Linked DNA regions of Homo sapiens: region 1 is linked to region 2. The links are contacts of gene promoters, found by promoter capture Hi-C in blood cells and fetal thymus (Javierre and others, 2016). All regions are on one chromosome and are shown on one strand. Each heading gives the region's core, a stretch centred on a gene start or on the middle of the fragment in contact. The rest is flanking DNA. Distances are from core to core; before and after follow the strand shown. Region 1 holds the start of KLHL15 (kelch like family member 15). Region 2 has its middle 7.4 kb from the start of PDK3.

Region 1 (6,606 bases), core at 2,894-5,393, 430 kb before region 2:
TTTTTAAATTTGATGTTTAATGTCGTTCTGAGTAAAGGAAAATTAAAAATTTAAATTAGCATGAATTTTACCATTCACCCTTATACTGTACAATCCCAGTTTTACATGCAGATTATTAAACCAAGTGTGGGGCCCTTCTGAACATCCATGAAGCCAAGCCTGCCCTGATCAAGGTTAGGTTTCTGAGATAACCCGACTCGAGGTAGAGAGAAGGTCAAACCTTGAAATCCCCAATAAAGCAATGATTTGTCAAAATTTTATCAAGATTAGTGATAAATCCAATCTATAAAACCAGCCACTTTGAAGTAGGCTCTTCCTTTTACTATGTAAATCCTGCCCAACTTCTATTATTTTGCCTTTTTACAAAACACAAAAGCATACTCTGAAAGACAACTGGTATTGGACTAGAGGATTATAAATTTAATAAAACATCTAACTACTCAAAACCATTTGTTAGCTAAAAATAACAATATACCCAAAAATGCTTCTCTTTTCACTTTTTGTGGACCATTTAAGCCAAACCATACTATATTTTTGATATGCCAAGTAAAAATGATCAATACTAATCTGTTACACATATAAATCCTGGCAAAATAAATTCAATTTTCAAACCACAAATATTTACTATCCTATTCTTTCCCCAAATTAATCAGCAATGAAGAGTGCAAGTTAACATCCTCTACCACTGATAAACTGTGACTCTAAGCACCTACTACGTGTTGTGATTAAAAATGAGAATAAAATTATATAATTACATTAAGTGCTAAAAAGTTGAAATGTTCTATACATTTCTAGATCTATTAAGGATTACTGAAACATGAATGCATTGATAAGCTCTTCAAAACCAATTTTCAAATTAGTAGAAGTATTCAAGCATCCTGCTCCCTAGATATGAAAAACAGGCATTAAAATTAGGGCATATATGTCTGCAAAGCATTTTCTAAATTACCACTTAATCAGATTAACAAAGGCAAACAAATTCGGAAAACAGAAAAGACTAACAAATGTAAGGTGTTAAATATTTGGAGTAAGAAAAGGGGCCTAAAGCGGCCTAGAACGATGAAAAGCAAAGCCCCTACGGTAACGTTACATTTGAATTAAAGAATACCGTTATTTAAATAAGCAGTTAGCACTTCGTAGGAGGAAGGCCAAGCAACGTGACTATTACAGATCTATGGATTCACAGCACTGCTTTACTATTATTCCGTACTTATTTGCTTATATTTATAATATAGAAATAAAGAGGCAGCAACAGTTAGCCACTACATTAACCACTCTACCAAAGGTTACTTAAAAAACGGCCTTGCATTCTTACAACACTCTACAGTTAAGGATTATTTTCACATATATGACCTCATATAGTCCTCTCAACCCTGCGATGTTGGTAGTACCGACTATATTTCATAGATAAGAAACCAAGGCTCGGTACGCGATTTTTTCTCAGAGTCACCCAAGTCGAACCCAGACCTTCCGATTCCTAGTTTTATGCCTCGCATTTTGCATAGTTCTATTTCAGGCATAAATTGAATTGTTAAAGGGAAGGAACGGGTTAGGCAAAAAATAATCATGGTACCTGCAGCTGTGTGCTGCAAAAAATGGCTGAATTATGCTTCTTCCTTTTTCTTTCTCGCTCTCTCTGGAAAAAAAAATTACATTTCAAACAATTTAAGTAAACTCGAAGACAAACGAGGTCCCGGCGTCTACCAAATGTTTGACTCGGGTCCGTGCAGAGAGGGCCGGCGAATTCGTGCCTAGCTCGGGGCCGCGGGCGAAGCCCGGGCTCCGCAGGCCGGCGGCCAGGGGCGGCTACGTACCTCGGGGGGTCCTGTCCAGCCTCTAGTGGACGGCAGTCTGCATCAGGAAGAACCGGGCCAGCGGGCCGATGGGTGGGCGGTCGGGCGCCGGGACGGCACTCGGCAGGCTCCTCGGACGTCTACGAGCAGCCGCTCCCGGCACGAGCCGGGTCGCTCCGGCGGGGCACGAGAGTGCTCGCCTGCAGCCCCCTCTGGATAAGTCCTGGGAAAGAAGACAGCGCTGAGTCGAGAAACCAGACAGTCGGGCTCCGCACGAGGCGGCGCGGCGTCGGGGCCCGGACCGACCTTGCCAACGCCGGGGGCCTCGCAGCACCCGACGGGGCTCGGCGGGAGGGCCGACTGGGGCCGCGGGCGGGGAAAAGGGCTGGGGGGCAGCAGGCAGAGACAGAAGCACCAGCCGAGGAAGCGTCGAGGACGGCGTCTCTGGGCTTCTGCCCCGAAGCGCGCCGAGCCTCGGGATCACCCACGCCGGGGGTGGAGGAAGGCGGGAAAGGGGCGGGGAAGGGGCGGGGCGTGCGGGGCCACGAGCCGGGGGCCGCTCCGGGCCGCGCGCCCCCTGCGGGCCGCGGGAGCCGCCCGGGGCCCGCCCAGGGAGGCGGGGCTGGCCGGCAGGGGGCCCAGTGCGCTGTCGTCTTGACGCGGAAGGCCGCCACGCTGGGAGAGAGGGCGGAGGGTGGGAAGCCGTTGGGGGCGGGGAGCTGGCCCGGGAGGCCCCCCCCTCGGCCCCTGCTGGCGCCCCGAGGGGGCCAGCCCGTGGCCTGGCGGGTGTTTACCTTCCCCCTGGTCGAGCGCCAATGCCGCCATCTTTCAGCCCAAAACGCGTCACTTCCGGCGCCACGGGAGCGGGAGCGGGTGTGGGAACGGGGGGGAAGGGGGGGCGGGGAAGGCTGTCCCGCGCCCGCGGCGCCCCGCGTCCCGGCTGCCGGCCCGCCACGCCAGCGGTTTCCCACCGAGGAAAACAGGCGGCCGGGCGTCGCGGCCCTGGACTGGGCCCGACGCAGCTTCCCCCGCGGCGCCGCCGTCGGGGCTGAGGACACTCAGCTGTCCTCGTCCCCTTGCAGCGGTCTCTCTCCGCCTGCACGAGCGATGGGCCCTGAGCCACTGCGGTGCGCCCACCCTCGACAAGTTGAGGGCTAGGAAGCCAGGAAAGTGTCTTTTTGCATCTTGGCCACGGTGGGGGTGGGGGAATCGGGGACAACGTGGAGGGAGCTTTTCCATAGCTACCTGTTATAAAAGTGACTAGATCTGCGCCAAATGACATCATTTTTTGTAAGGCAACTTGCAGTGGACTATTGCGTCACTGTCCACTTGGCTTACTGCACAACAATTACACGTTTCAGAAATCGATTTCCCAAGGGTGGGAAAATTCATAAAAAATTGCATGTCTGCACCACCCGGAGATAATGCCGGATTTAAAAAAGCTGTCTCTACTTGCGTCAAAATAATCAAGAACGAACATTCAGAGGGCAGTGATTTTTGTTGTTCGTTTTTTATAGAATTCTAGCTAGTACTTTTTAAATATTACCTTTTCTTGACAAGAATATAAAACTAGACTATAGGACTGTTTTGTAAATTTATTATGGCATCTCTTTCTGGGAAAAGTGTAGATGACGGAAATACACAGTTGGAAGCCCGTGGATCTACAATTAACCTTAAATTAGGGCATCCATTGCCCATAGCAGATCCTAAACTGAGGTATTTCGGCTTCCCCCACCCCCACCCCCCGCCGCCATTTTCTCTCTAGACCAATATCCCGATGAACTTTCCGTGAGAGGTGTCGCTAAAAGCGATAATTATCTCTTTCTAGCAAACTTGAACATACCATCTTTCCCAAGAGGCCAAAATAGCACACGGTGTACTGTTTTGCTGAAGTAGACTACTTCGTGGGAGAGATAACACAATCACTTCAATCTTTTGGAAATACGCTTCCTTATTCCGATTTAAACTATAACAAGCTTTAAAAAAACTGTAAGACACTGAAATTCCCAAGTTGTTCACACTTTCTTTCCATCTTTTCCAATAGCTCCTTTAAGATATTTCTGTTCATTATTTAAAAATCCCTGCTTGCCATATTTGTATCTATTACTACATGACAAATTACCCCAGAATTTCACATTAAAACAAATTTTTAAAATTAAATCATAAAATAAACTTTAAAAATGCATACATTCCACTTCTGAATATTTAAATGTTCATGCATTATTCCCGAACATCTAAACGCTGAGTTTGGATTTTTGTACATTAACTAACATTTTAAGCTATACATTACTATGTGGCACTGACCTGTCTAAAGAGAGGCTTCTGTTCTTGATTCAAGCAAGAGTTGAAACGTTTCTGCGCTCTTTGTACCAGGTATAAATGTAGTGAGTGTATGTCATAAGCCATTGTGTGATCACCGTGCTTCCCGTCCCTCCTTATTTTGACATTGCAAGGTCTCGTGGAATTTCAAATGTGCTTTTTTGGATATTTATGTAGTTTTAAAACTGGGCTGTGTCTTTCAATCAATCTATACGTTTACTATATGAACCCCTCCCCAAGTTATCTTCAATCAATGATGCCTCTTTCACTCTTATTTCTTATTTTTATGTTATTATTATTATTTTTTTTTTGAGACAGTCTCACTCTCGGCCAGGCTGGAGGGCAGAGGCATGATCTCAGCTCACTGCAGCCTTGACCTCCCGGGCTCAAGCAATCCTTCCACCTCAGCCTCCCGAATAGCTAGGACCACAGACGTGCCCCACCATGCTCGGCTAACTTTTCTTTTCTTGTTTTTGTTTGTTTGTTTGTTTTGTTTTTGTTTGCTTGTTTTTTTCTGAGATGGAGTCTGTCGCTCAGGCTGGGGTGCAGTGGATCTCGGCTGACTGCAACCTCCGCCTCCCGGGTTCAAGCGATTATCCTGCCTCAGCCTCCCGAGTAGCTGGGATTACAGGCGCTCGCCACCGTGCCCAGCTAACTTTTGTATTTTTAGTAGAGACGGGGTTTCACTGTGTTGGCTAGGCTGGTCTCAAACCCCCGACCTCATGATCGCCCGCCTTGGCCTCCCAAAGTGCTGGGATTACAAGCGTGAGCCACTGCACTCCAGCTCAGGCAACAGAGCAAAAACACCGTCTCAAAAAAAAAAAAGAAAAGAAAATATATTTTAACTTTCCCCACCAATTTCTGGACTGTAATGGGAGTTGTTAAATACCTTGAGAGTATCCTTTCACACTGGTAGAGTCCCACAGAGGTAGATGGAAGCTGTCTTTTCTTAGCCCTCTAGCCTAAGTATTTGAGAATACACATTCCTCAATAGCTATTTATTTAGCAGCTAGCGAGGTCGGAAGCATGCTAGAAGCCTGGGCCTGGGAGTGCTGGTGGAGTTGGAATGAGGTTCTTCCCCAGGGGTTCTGAGGATTTAGGATACTGCATACCCTCCTCCTCCCTCCTGTTTTTGCTTTTTAAGAAATTGAGGCCAGGCGTGGTGGCTCACGCCTGTAATTCCAGCACTTTGGGAGGCCGAGGCGGAAGGATCATTAGAGGTCAGGAGTTGGAAACCAGCCTGACGAACATAGTGAAACCCCGTCTCTATTAAAAATACAAAAAATTAGCTGGCATGGTGGTGCGGGCCTGCGGTCCCAGCTACTCAGGAGGCTGAGGTAGGAGTATGGCTTGAGCCCAGGAGGCAGAGGTTGCAGTGAGTCGAGATTGCACCACTGCACTCCAGCCTGGACAACGGAACTAGACGCTGTCTCAAAAAAAAAAAAAAGAAAAGAAAAGTTGAGGCTTTTCAGAAATTCCCAGTCTGTGGTAGTTGTCTTGGTAATCACTTTTCTTTTTACTTTTTTTTTTTTTCTTTTTTTTGAGACAGAGTCTCCCTCTATCATCCAGGCTGGAGTGCAGTGGCGTGATTGGCTCACTGCAACCTCTGCCTCCCAGGTTCAAGTGATTCTCCTGCCTCAGCCTCCCAAGTAGCTGGGACTACAGGCACACACCACCACGCCCAGCTAAATTTTGTAACTTTAGTAGAGATGGGTTTTCCCATGTTGGCCAGGCTGGTCTCGAACTCCTGACCTCTAGTAATCCATCCACCTCAGCCTCCCAAAGTGTTGGGATTACAGGCGTGATCAACCGCACCCAGCCACCCCATGATCTTTCCACTGTACCATGTAATTATATTAACATAGTAAATGATCTTCACATAGTTGTATTTTTATTCCTACTTAATTCCACAAATTGTTGGTTTGCAATCTACTATACTATTTATTTATTCATTCCATAAGTATGTGTAAGTGCCTAGTACATGCCAAGTCTTGTTCTACCCACTGGGGATCCATCAGTGAATAAAACATATGAAAACTCTAGCCCTTGTACGGATTACATGTGTCAGGTAATAAAATAAATAAGCAAATTATGTGGCCTGTTAGAATGTGGTAAATGTGGCCGGGTGCGGTGGCTCACGCCTGTAATCCCAGCACTTTGAGAGGCTGAGGTGGGTGGATTACTTGAGGTCAGGAGTTCGAGACCAGCCTGGCCAACACGGGAAACCCCATCTCTACTAAAAATACGAAGAAATTAGCCAGGCGTGGTGGCACATGCCTGTAATCCCAGCTATTTGGGAGGTTGAAGCAGGAGAAGTGCTTGAACCCGGGAGACTGGGCGAAAGAGGGAGACTCTGCCTCAAAAAAAATATATATTATTTTCATAGAAGTTTTAATGACTTATGAAATTGTTTCTAATATAATCTTATGTGAAAATGCAGGACAAAAAAAAACTATAATTGCACTGATCACAGTAACACTGAACCCTCAGAGGT
Region 2 (6,221 bases), core at 1,721-4,220:
TGGGAAGCATTTGGCCCCAGTTCTGTTCCTTTAATATCACTAATACTATAGTCATTTTATGCATCAGATGATACAAGGTACAAATTATTCTTGAATAGGAATCCCTAAATTCCTTGTGAAGAATGGCTGTTTTTCTCTTTCTTTCTTTCTTTTTTTTTTTTGAGACGAAGTCTTGCTCTGTTGCCCAGGCTGGAGTGCTGTGGCATGATCTCGGCTCACTGCAACCTCCACCTCCTGGGTTCAAGCGATTCTCCTGGCTCAGCCTCCCGAGTACCTGGGATTACAGGCACGCAACACCGCCTGGCTAGTTTTTGTATTTTTAGTAGAAATGAGGTTTCACCATGTTGGCCAGGCTGGCCTAGCTTCAAGTGATCCTCTCGCCTCGACCTCCCAAAGTGCTGGGATTACAGGCATGAGCCACCGCGCCTGGCCTGTTTTTCTTTTTCTCAAAACTTTAATACCTCCAGAAAAATGAGATCAAGTGGAGGGGCCAAGGTGAAAACAGCTGGGGCTGACAATAAGACCCTGGTGGCCTAGGGAAGAGGTCCTCCTGGTAGCTACACAACCCTCCCTGATGGAAATCACAGCAATTTGGAGGCTGGTGGTGGTTGTGATGGTTGGGGGTGGGGGTAAGGGCTGTACTTTGGCAAACAGCTTGGATGAAAGAAGGCTTTACTAAATGCTGATGGAAGAAATGCCAAGTTTTCTAGATAATAGGTGGCACCTCAGATGTCAGAGTCCTCTGCAAATAATGGTTCATGCTCTGTTAATTATGGGACTAAGTAAATATTCATAGAAACAGATAAGATCATGTTTTGGATAAAAACAGAAGAGCAGTGGATTCTGACAAGTCTCTGTATAACTAACCTTCATCTTTTGGGTTGAAGGAGAACTGAATAAAGTCATTCATGTTACCTATCCTTGGTTCAGATTTTTAGAACACATTGCCACCCAGGGATTCTAAGGATTTTCTCAATGTCAAATCAAACCATGATATCACTCAAGGCATTCATTAGTGGTGGTTGTTTTGTTGGCATTTTGCTGTATTTCCTTCTGTACCTTTCGATAAAAAAGGTTTAGGTGATCTCTTCCTAGCTAAGCTCAGTTTATTTATGTATTTATTTATTTATTTAGAGACAGGGTCTCACTCTGTCACCCAGACTGGGGTGCAGTGGCGTGATCTTGTCTCACTGTAGCCTCGATCTCCTGAGCTCAATCCATCCTCCTACCTCAGCTTCCCAAGTAGCTGGGACTGTAGGTGTAAGTCGCCAGGCCTGGCTGATTTTTTTGTTTTTGTTTTTTGTAGGGATGGGGTTTTGTCACGTTGCCTAGGCTGGTCACGAACTCCTGGGCTCAAGTGATCCGCTCGCCTCCGCCTTCCAAAGTGCTGGGATTACAGGCATGAGCCACTGAGCCCTGCCTGAAGCTCAGATTTAATACATAATTTAGTATCTTCCTTTTTCCCTCTTATTATAATGTTTGTATTTTCCGTGTTCTCATATAGACTTCATACAAAGAACCTTTAAAGACAGTATAATGGTTCATTGTATGTGTGCCATGATTTATTTAACCATCCTCTGTTATTGTTTCCCTTCTGGGTATTATAGGATCTGATTTTGTTCATAACCCCTGGGCACAAGAAACATTATCTTTCTTTATTTTAAAAAATCAAATTAAATCTGGGTTTGCGTTCCCACGTGCAGAGCTGGCAAGATGCCCAACAGCAGCCATTACTGGGGGGCTTGTCCCCATGTGTATATACAGGATACCTGAAGTATGCTTGGCATGAAAGTTAGGATACTTTTTTAGTTTTTATTTTGAGATGGGGTCTTGCTCTGTCGCTTAGGCTGGAGTACAGTGGCGAGATCACAGCTCACTGCAGCCTCAACCTCTCCAGCTCAGATGATCCTCCCCACTCGGCCTCCTCAGTAGTAGGTGGGTGCCACCATGCCCAGCTAATTTTTGTATTTTTAGTAGAGATGGGGTTTTGCCATGTTGCCCAGGCTGGTCTCGAACTCCTGGGCTCAAGCAATCCACTTGCCTTGGCCTCCCAAAGTGTTGGGATTACAGGCGTGAGCCACTGCTCCCAGCCCTGTGACAGTTTTGACTCTAGTAATATCAATCTGCTTAAGGTGGCCTAAACCATAAAAATGTACTGGCCCATGTAACTGGAAGTTCAGAGAAGGTTTCAGGTTGGATTGATTTAGTGCCCTGACAACGTTATTGAGGACCCAGTTTCTTCCCATTTCTGCTCTGCTTTCTGCAAAGTCAGCTTCACTCTGGCCACAAAATGGTTGTCTACTGCACTCCAGGTACTACATGCTTCCTTGATTGCACCCAGAGATGGGAATGAGGTAGGAAGAGAGAAGAAGAAAAGTGAGAGGTTGAGAGAGATGCTTCTAGAAGCTTCCTGAGAATAGCAGCAAGTTTCTTTCACAGAAGCTCCCAGGAAATGTCTCCTCCTATATCATTGGCCTAAATTGGGTCAAGTATCTATCCTTGAACCAGGAGCCATGGCCAGCAATCAGAATTAAGCTCATTAGTTTGTAGATTGACCCATATATATCATGACTACAGCTGAGGTGGGCTATTTTCTTCCCAAGGCACAAATGAACTGCCTGGGGGAGTGAACAAAAGTGGGAGTAGTTACCAATAGAAGAAGGAATGGATTTTATAGAGGTAACCAAAATATCTCCTATATTTTCCAACTTCTGTTTTCAGTCGTAGAAACCAAAGCACCCCATTGCACATAAGCAGCTAATGATATCGTCAAGGCATAGCAGCCCAAAACCCGGAGCCAAAGACTCCACTGTCTTTTAGGCTGGGGAAGATAAGCGACTCCTTTCTTCTGCACCTCCAAGAGCAGCAAAATCAAAACATAGATTTAATTTCTCAATAAATTATCCTGTCACATCATCCCTGTACTTAAAATCTTTTCTGGCCAGGCGTGGTGGCTCATGCCTGTAATCCCAGCACTTTAGGAGGCCGAGGCGGATGGATCACCTGAGATCAGGAGTTCAAGACCAGCCTGGCCAACATGGTGAAACCCCATCTCTACTAAAAATACAAAAAAAAAAAGAAAAAGAAAAAAAGAAAAAAATTAGCCAGGCACAGTGGCATGCGCCTGTAATCCCAGCTATTTGGGAGGCTGAGGCAGGAGAATCGCTTGAACCTGGGAGGTGGAGGTTGCAGTGAACCGAGATCGCACCACTGCACTCCAGCCTGGGCGACAGAGCGAGACTCCATCTCAAACAAACAAACAAACAAACAAACAAAAAATTCTTTTCTGACCTCTTTTGGAGGAATATAAAGGCTGAAACCCCTTAATTAGAAACAAAAGGACCAGGATAAACAGGGCTTCAAGAGGATTTGTGCCATCTAAAAGAGTTTGCTGAAAAAAGCCTACCCCATAAGTACATACAGCTATTATACATCCATAAGAATTAAAAAATTCAAAAATCTAGAATCTAGACACGGGAGAAAAGAGCTACTCCTTCAAGTCATACACATATTTGATTAAAGATGTACATTTAGTAAAGCTTTATTAAGTAACCCTTGATCCACCAGTTCACTTATTTTCACCATCTCACTTCCCACTCTTAAAATCGAAAGGTGCCTGGCAAATCTTGGAATCAACCAAGACATCCTTCAGTAGGTGAATTAATAATAAACTGTGATAAAACCAACATGGTGAAATATTATTTAGCCCTAAAAAGAAATGAACTATCAAGCCATGAAAAGACACTGAGAAACTTTAAATGCATATGGTGACGTGAAAGAAGCCAGTCTGAAAAAGCCACATCCTGCAGGATTCCAACTATATGACATTCTGGAAAAGGCAAAATTAGAGACAGTGAAAAGATCAGTGGTTTCCAGGGGTCAGAAGAAAGGGAGGGTTGAATAGGCAGAACAGAGAGGAGTTTTAGGACAGCGAAACTATTCTGTTTGATACTATAGTGGTGGATACTTGTCATTATACATTTGTCCAAACCCACAAAATGTACAACAGTAAGAGTGAATCCTAATGTAAACTATGGACTTTGGATGATAATGATGTGTTAATATGGGTCCCTTGATTGTAATAAATGTACCAGTCTGGTAGGGGATGTTGATGGTGGAAGAGGATGTGTGTCTCAGGGGGATATGTGGGAATTCCCTGTGTTTTCCATTGAATTTTGCTGCGAACCTAAAAATTCTTTAAAAATAAAGTCTATTTTGTTTTAAAAAGGCAGGCTGGTATTATGAAAGAACATCGAATTGAGAGCCAGGAGACCTGGATTCAAACCCAGACTGCCATTTACAAGTTGTATAAACTTAAATTATTTTAACCTTTCTGTGTCTTAGCTCACTCACCTGTAAAATGAGGATAATATTCATCCATCATACTCACTGTGAAGAGACAACATAAGTGCTTTCACATAGCACACAATAGGTGCTCAAAAAAACATTAACTGAGAAGAGAGAAGGAGGAAGAAAATACAAGGAGAGCAGGATATTATACCCCTGTCAAATGGTGACAGAGGTATTTTGTAACAAGATCCACTAGTTAGGGAGATAGATCTTTTTTTCTCATCTATTCCACTCTACTTTGGATTTTGGCTGCATCATATTATGATTTAATAAAGTGTCCATTATTATTTAAATTACTCAGAAAACTACCTTTGCCTAGTTCTAGTGTTCTATAGCAGCTTTTAGAAGGAGTGCGATTTGGGATAGGTTTGGTTGTTATTTTTGTTGATTTTTATGTATTTAATACATGTTTGTTGTGAACCTGAACAGTGACTGTTAGTTATGCTGGGCACTGGGGATGCAGCAGTGAGTACACCAGACTTGGTCCCAGCCCTGCCAAGGCTTAAGTCTAGTGTAGAAGACAGGCATTGATCAAACTATAACAAAGCGTTTGGAGAGTTACAGTGGGAAGTAGAGCGAATCGAGAAAACATATGGCAAGGAGAAGGAATTGACTTTATGGTCAGGGAAGGCCTCCCTTTATGTTTAAGTGATGATTACACTGAGATCTGAGGCATTAGCTGGAAGGAATAGAGAGTTAGGTTAGAGTAGGTTAGGGGAGGACACTGATTTTCACACTGAGGTGCATCAGAATTACCCTCAGGTGGCCGGGCGCGGTGCCTCATGCCTGTAATCCTAGCATTTTGGGAGGTGGAGGTGGGCAGATTGCCCGAGCTCAGGAGTTCGAGACCAGCCTGGGCAACATGGCGAAACCCTGTGTCTACTAAAAATACAAAAAATTAGCTAGGCGTGGTGGTGCACACCTGTAATCCCAGCTACTCAGGAGGCTGAGGCACGAGAATTGCTTGAACCTGGGAGGCAGAGGTTGCAATGAGCTGAGATCATGCCACTGCACTCCAGCCTGGGTGACAGAGTGAGTCTGTCTCAAAAAAAAAAAAAAAAAGAATTACCTGGAGGGCTTGCATATTAGTTAACTATTGCTGTGTAACGAATTATCCAGAAACTTAGCAGCTGGAAACCACAAACACTTATTACAACAAACTGAGGATTTCTCGGGGTGAGGAGTCCGGGAGCTGCTTAGTTGAGTGGTTCTGACTCAGGGTCTCTCTCAAGGTTACAATGAGGTGTCTCTCAAGGTTACAATGAGGTGTCAATCAAGGTGTTGGCTAGAGCTTTGTCATCTCAAGGCTCCACAAGGGGAGTATCATAGGAGAGAGAGAGAGAGACAGAGACTGAGAGAGAGAGAGGTGGGGGGAGGGAGAGAGGTAGGGAGGCAGGGAGCATTAGTATAGTACATTTGCTATAATTCAGGAACCAATATTGATACATTATTATTAAACAAATTTGGGCCAAAGTCTATACTTTATTCAGAATTTCTTAGTTTTACCTAATATCCCTTTGTCCATTTGTTTTAGAATATTTTATTCCTTTTAGCTAGAATGATTGCCTATATTGACTTTATTTTTTAAATTCCTTTTTTTTTTTTTTGAGACAGAGTCTCACTCTGTCGCCCAGGCTGGAGTGCAATAGCGCGAACTTGGCTCATTGCAACCTCCGCCTCCAGGGTTCAAGCGATTCTTCTGCCTCAGCCTCCCAAGTACCTGGGATTACAGGCACCCACCATCACGCCTGGCTAATTTTTTTATTTTTAGTACAGACGGGGTTTCACCATGTTGGCCAGGCTGGTCTTGAACTCCTGACCTCAGGTGATCCGCCTGCCTCAGCGTCCCAAAGTGTTGGGATTACAGGCAT

What was found. The method cuts DNA at HindIII sites, captures the fragments that hold promoters and counts their contacts. A CHiCAGO score of 5 or more calls a contact.
Region 1: the fragment with the promoter of KLHL15 here is called in contact with a fragment that was not itself captured in region 2 in 1 of 17 cell types (activated CD4 T cells); the score reaches 5.1 in activated CD4 T cells.

Annotation. Positions count from the first base shown.
Region 1 is chrX:24,023,043-24,029,648 of GRCh38, forward strand. KLHL15 (kelch like family member 15) reads right to left here and starts at 4,144. Exons shown (of 4, transcript NM_030624.3): 1 at 4,098-4,144; 2 at 1,815-2,016. RefSeq lists silencers at 1,896-1,975, 1,986-2,135, 2,146-2,215, 2,296-2,735, 2,746-2,845 and enhancers at 2,508-3,012, 3,013-3,516, 4,724-5,223. The HindIII fragment of the contact is 3,234 bases long and covers 3,768-6,606 here.
Region 2 is chrX:24,454,774-24,460,994 of GRCh38, forward strand. No RefSeq gene overlaps it. Among named protein-coding and RNA genes, the nearest start is that of PDK3, 7.4 kb to the right of the region's middle. The HindIII fragment of the contact is 1,133 bases long and covers 2,405-3,537 here.